2 separate regions of the Homo sapiens genome follow, and region 1 is linked to region 2. Evidence: promoter capture Hi-C in 16 types of primary human blood cells and fetal thymus (Javierre and others, 2016). All regions are on one chromosome and are shown on one strand. The core of a region is centred on a gene start or on the middle of the fragment in contact, and the rest is flanking DNA. Distances in the headings are between cores, read along the strand shown.

Region 1 (3,356 bases), core at 30-2,529, 470 kb after region 2:
TGAGGATTTGAGGAGAGAGTTAAAGAGCAGAGAAACTGAAGGCAGCACCTGAAGTTGGAGAGGCAGGTGGGAAAAAAGCAGGAAAAGAGGGAATTTGAATGTTCCTGGAAATTATGTTGCACCTTCCTGTTGCTGAGACATACTTACGAAAGATTTGGGTTATTTTGAAATAGCTGTAGATTGCTAGACTGTGTTCTTTTGATGAAAACACCATTTCTGGACCAACCATGTGGACTACAGCATTATCATTATCCCTATTGGTTTCAGAGATGCCACTAAGCCACGTGGTCAAGCTTACTCCCTTTCAGACTGGTACATCTCTTCCCCCATAATCCTCACCCCGCACCCTAAGAAAATCTCTTACATGGGACTATTGGATGCATCCCAAAGGTGGCTATTTGACCCCTTTTACTTGGGAAAACCCAGGATGACAAATGTGTGGGAATTTTTTCTTCCACAGTTCACAGTTTTCTTTAGCTGGGCCCATATCCATCCTTCCCACATGGACATAAGCAGTGGACGACTGTGTATTTTACTTTTCTGAAGTTTAATTCCTCTCATTTTTTTTCTTTTGTGTTTTAAATCTCCTTTATGCTTTTGAATTGAAATAGGAAGATAATTGACCTAGATTGCTTTCCACTCTTCCCTCCCCTCTCTCATCTGCTGACTCGGGACAAACTTCAAACACAATTTAGGCACTGTCTCTACAGTTTCTAAAAGCTTTCCTGACCTCTTTCCTTAATTCCATAAAATCTGCGCAAAGCTCATCACCTCACTTATTGCACTGTATTAAAACGATGCATTCATGTGGCCACCTCTCCTTCATGGTAAGCACCGTATCTCCTTCACCTCCTTCTCCATAACACAGCACAGCCTCTGAAATGAAGCCAGTCTTCAGCAAGTGCTTTGATGAACAGTAAATTTTGAAGCAGCTCTTGAAGACTCCCTTGAGGTCCATTTTCTTTTGCTGAAGCCCAAAGAGGTGGGGAATATAGGGAAAGTCCTTCTCTAGGTTCCCATGGGAACTGAAATAAATGCAGCAACAATTAGAGGAGAAATGAATGCACTAAAAATATCATTTTACAAAGTAAAGGAATGTTACTATTTCAAGTGCTCAATTATACCTGCTGCCCTTTCTTTGCCATAGGAGAATGTTTAAAACAGCTTACAAAATTATGGTTCTTTGTTAATTAAAAAGCTTATTCACCAATCCTAATAATACTATATATATATAGATGTATGTGTATGTATATATACAGATATAAAATATCGTCTAGATCTATGATTTTCTTTCTTCCTTTTATTTATTCATTCAGCCAATCTTTACTGCATGCCAACAATAATGTGCTAGACACCATGCTAAGCTTCAGGGACACAACAGTGACTAAAAGAGCCAAGATAGTCTTTCTTCATGGAGTACACAGTCTAACAGGGTAAATAGACAACTTGAAAAGCAAGCAAACAAATAAATATAGTCTTACAAATTGTTCAAGTGACATGCAGGAACTAGCAAGGTGCTATTATGGAGACTAACGGAGGGGTCGTTGGGTTGGGCATCACTCAGTAAGAGGCACCTAATGTTAGACCCAGAGGAAGAGAAGGGACTGGTCTACAAAGAGCTGGAGGTAAACTGTTCCAGCCCAAAGGAAGTGCAGGTGCAACGACTTCAAGAAAAAGGGAATCAGGAGCTTGAAGAATGGAAAGAAGGCTCGTGTGGCTGCAGCAGAGCTGAACAGGAGGAGATTGACTATGTATGACAGAGAAAATTTAGATTTTGCTCAAAGGGCAATGGGAAGTCACTGAAGCATTTTAAGGAGGGATGTGCTATAATCCCATTTCAAAAGATCACTGCAGTTACTCCAAGATAACAGTTTTGGAAGGTGAATAAAAAACGTGAAAGCTAACTATGAGATTTTCAAGCAGTGAAGCAAGAGATGATAATGGTTTAAATAAGGATGGTGGTAGTAGAGACTGGACAATATGAATGTGGCTGAGAAATATTTTGAAAGCAGACACACCAAAATTTATTTGAAAATTTGAATTCTAGAATTCTATGACAGAATAAAAGCAAGCTCAACCCTATTTTATTCTGTGATAAAGTCAGTGTTTCAAATAAAGTTGAACTTGCTTTTTCAAGAAGGTAAAAAATATTGATTTTGAGGAAACTCTGAGAGACCTAAGCAGAACAACTAAAGAGATAGCTGGATGTTCACTTGCTCTCTCCCCTCTCCTTTCCTTTCTCCTTCTTTCCTCCCTCCACCACTTGCTTTCTCTTCTGCACACATCCTTGGGCCCTCCTCATTCTCAGGCAACCTCCACCTTGCTCTGTGGTGGGCTCTGTCTTCATCCTGTCTCTTTCCCATGTTGCCTACCCTTTGCTTATAACTGTCACTATGTATCTGGCTTCTGCCTCTCCTGCAAGCAAAAACAATGACTTTATCATAAAATAATGTCCTTCTATGGATTTCCTTCAACCCACCCTTCCAAACTACTCATGTGTTTATAACTACATGAACCATCCCCTGGGCTAATAAGTTGGGGTCAAACACATACCCTTCTCCACATACTTGCTAAGTCCTTACCAACCTTAGTTGGCCTTTCCCATCTCATTCTTCTCCACTATCTTTTATAATTAAACATAGGATTTCAGCTGCAGTGACATGGAATAGTGAGTGGCTTATTTTTGGACTAGGAAGGCTGCTGGAAAGTCTTTGGTGAATAAAATAAACAACAGCATTTCATTGCATAGTCATGAACTAATAAGAATGCATTTTTTTCTTCTTTTGAGACCCAGTCTCACTCTGTCACCCAGGCTGGAGTTCAGTGGTGTGATCTTGGCTCACTGCAACCTCCACCTCCTGAGTTGAAGCGATTCTTCTACCTCAGCCTCCAAAGTAGCTGAGACTACAGGCACGAGCCACCAGGCCCAGCTAATTTTTGTATTTTTAGTAGAGATGGGGTTTTGCTATATTGGCCAGGGTGGTCTCAAACTCCTGACCTCAAGTGATCTGCCTGCCTCGGCCTCCCAAAGTGCTGAGATTACAGGCATGAGCCACCGTGCCAGGCCAAGAATGCATTCTTAATTACTCCCTTCACACTTTCATCCTGATGCTAAGCATCATCCTGCTCTGTGTTGGCCTGTTAGAAGCAAACTCTTAGTTTTTTGTTTGAATAAGATACTGTTGTAGAGAGGATTAAATGGGGTGATACATATGAAGCATCTAATAGATGCTATTGCCTAGCATCTAATAGTTGCTCAATAAATAGTAGCTGTCCTGAATTAAAAAGTCCTCTCCCTCTATCTGTTATCTGATTGGAGCTAACTCAAGGAAAAATATCCCCAAAAAGGATTCTTC
Region 2 (3,219 bases), core at 203-2,702:
GGAAGGTCACAGCAGTACCTAAAACCATGCTATGCAATGCTTTAGTTTTAGGAACTGATCTTTATATTATCTCATATGAATGAGAAAACATACTTAAAGATCACAAATGGGTAAATTGTACAACTGTTGTTTTTAAATTTCATGACTTAAGCAATTTCCCATATATTTTGTTTTTCTAGCTATTTTGACTCCTCTTCCCATAAAGGATTCAAGAAAATTTTAAATATAGTTTTTAAGGTTTTTCAGTAGTGTCTTTGAATACTTTTAACATCTGACCTACATCTTTCTGTAAAGGACTTTAAGATGATTTCCCTCATGATATTTTCAATAGCAGTTTATGATTTGAGGTAGACGTTCTTGTTATCACTACAACCATTCTTTTTTGTTGCTGTTTCCTGAAAGAAGGTTGTGGCATCGCACTCTTTGATCTATCTTGCAATTAAATTGGCCATGAAAGATAATGTGATTCATCTAACTTTTATATGAAAAGTAAAAGGAAATATATTGCTCATTTCAAAAATTCAATTCAGGCCAGGCACAGTGGTTCACGCCTATAATCCCAGCACTTTGGAAGGCCGAGGCAGGCGGATCATGAGGTCAGGAGTTTGAGACCAGCCTGGCCAACATGGTGAAACCCCGTCTCTACTAAGAATACAAAAATTAGCCAGGCATGGTGGCAGGCACCTGTAGTCCCAGCTACTCGGGAGGCTGAGGCAGGAGAATCGCTTGAACCCGGGAGGCAGAGACTGCAGTAAGCTAAGATTGCACCACTGCACTCCAGCCTGGGCAACAGAGAAAGACTCCATCTCAAAAAAAAAAAAAAAAAAGAAAGAAAAAAAAAAAAGAAAATTAAATTCAGTAACTTTAAAAAACAAATTTTTGTTACAAATTAAAGAAAATAATTGACTTCCCTATTTATTTTGACTCAAAACTGGACAACCACTGGCATTTGACTGCTATAATGATTTAAAAATTAATAAGCTGATTCCTGCTCAGAAAATGCTTCTTCTAATGCAGTTCTAGCTACAGTGTGGAATATCTGTCTCCTTTAGGTACACCTTGGATGATCTGGACTCTAAAAATCCAAGTTACACCCAAGATTCCATTATCCTGTGGTTACTCACTTGGACCACAGACATGTAGGACCTGTCTGAAAGAAATATAAGAATCAAGTGGAAGTCAACCAGTGAATCATCCCTATAATGTAGTGAAACTTTAGAAAGAAGAGCCGGGAGGATGTATTGGTTGTTAGGAAAATGTAGGCTACCAGTAGAAAATGACATTCTCTATTAATAAGATCTGAGGTGCGACACACATAATTGTCCCAATTTTTAAGATTGATGGGGAGCATGAAGCATTTTTTTAATGTGTTGGCAGGCCCCATTAAATGCATAAACTGCATAGGACTCATGTGGTCTGAATGTATTTTAGGGCTTTCTGGGAATTGTCTTGACAGAGAACCTCAGCTGGACAAAGCAGCCTTGATCTGAGTGAGCTAACTGACACAATGAAACTGTCAGGCATGTTTCTGCTCCTCTCTCTGGCTCTTTTCTGCTTTTTAACAGGTAAGTTTTTTCTTAAAATTAAGATCCCATATTTATACTGAACTGGATATGATGAGTAGTTGTTTATCATATTTTAAATCCTAATGATTTTGATGTAAAAGACCAATTCTGAGAGATTATCATAATGATGATAATGATTGTGATGACGACAATGGTTATGGTAATAATTATTAAAATTACTGTGATTTGTTGAGCATATACTATATTCTAGGCATGTACGAAGGGATTTTATGTATTGTCTCTGAGACTCATAATAAGGTATTTCTATCTCTGTTCTTCATATAAGAAACTGTGGAACAGAGAAATTGAGAAAATCAGCAAAAGACTTGCAACTAGTAGTTAGAATCTGGAATTTGAATCAGATTCTCTTGCCATCACATTTAATGTTTGTTCCATAAAACTAGATTGGAGGATGGATAATTGCATTAAATATTGGTTTTGCTTTCCAGAACAAAGAAATATTTTCCTCCCCTTAGTTATTATTACAAAGACATTCAAATAATTAAATTAAGACAATGGGGAAATTGGAAACTCAATGAGAAAAATCTTTGAAAATATGTAATTGAAACTTAGAATGCAGAAACATATGTTTCTGGTGAGCTAAATAATCTTAGAGAAGGAGAATATCTTTGGACACTTTAGTGAGGTTCAAAGCACAATCATACTTCAAGGTTATGTTTTTTAAGACAGAACCATCGGAATGAGCAGGTCCATCATAAGCTATTTTCTTCCTTATTATTCTACTCTTTCACGTTGTAGGGCACAAAGCAAATGCTAGTTTTTAGACCTAAGACCTAGTTTCATCTCTTCTATTAATGGCCTGTGTCACTTAAAGAAATAACATAATTTTCTGAGATATTTTGTCATTTGTAAAATAATAGAAATAAAACTAAGCCCTGGGACCTTCCATATCTTATGTATCATTTTGTGTGACAGTAGCAGATGAATTTTACTACTATGCAAGATTTTAAATGGATGTACAAGTAAAAAAAAAATCAATGAGATTTAGCTGATAGAGAAGCCAGTGTTCACTGTAGCTGGTCATAATTACAAAAACAAATACACTTAGAAATACAAAAAAAATGGGTAAAGGATTCCTGTGATATTATGGAGTAAGCTTGACTACTAAAGCCAAATAACCTTAATGGGTAGTTCAATCAGTTGCTGAGATGGCAGAAAAATATATATCTGACTATGTAAAGTTTAGCTGCAAAGATAGTCTCAGAAATCAATTGTTATTTCCTTTTCTTCTCTTTACAAAGGTGAATTGATCTTTAACAGGATCTGGTTGACTAATACAGTTTACCAAAGCATGGATGCTTCACAGACATACTAGATAGTATTTGGGAGGCCATAATGCCTAAGGGCCTTAATGCTGAAACAGAGTAAAGTGAATTTTAGCCCTGGCACTTTCATTTTATAGCTTTGTGAACTCTCTGATGTTTATTTCACTTATATATAAAATAAACATATAAAGGACTATCTCTGTGTGGAGAATTAAATGAGAAAAAGGCATGTACAATGCTTAACATAGTGGATGGGGTATAGTGCATGTTTAACAAATGTCTATTAACATTATTGCCATAATAAAGTTTAATAAAAAGAGTACTAAATTGGACTCCGTCATTGTGAATATTAATCCTGTTTTTGCCTT

What was found. The method cuts DNA at HindIII sites, captures the fragments that hold promoters and counts their contacts. A CHiCAGO score of 5 or more calls a contact.
Region 1: a contact is called between a fragment that was not itself captured here and the fragment with the promoter of SPINK6 in region 2, in 1 of 17 cell types (endothelial precursors). The highest score is 5.8, in endothelial precursors.

Annotation. Positions count from the first base shown.
Region 1 is chr5:148,676,211-148,679,566 of GRCh38, forward strand. No RefSeq gene overlaps it. Among named protein-coding and RNA genes, the nearest start is that of HTR4, 23 kb to the left of the region's middle. The HindIII fragment of the contact is 166 bases long and covers 1,197-1,362 here.
Region 2 is chr5:148,201,590-148,204,808 of GRCh38, forward strand. SPINK6 (serine peptidase inhibitor Kazal type 6) reads left to right here and starts at 1,453. Exons shown (of 4, transcript NM_205841.4): 1 at 1,453-1,565. The coding sequence starts at 1,508. The HindIII fragment of the contact is 4,979 bases long and covers 1-2,680 here.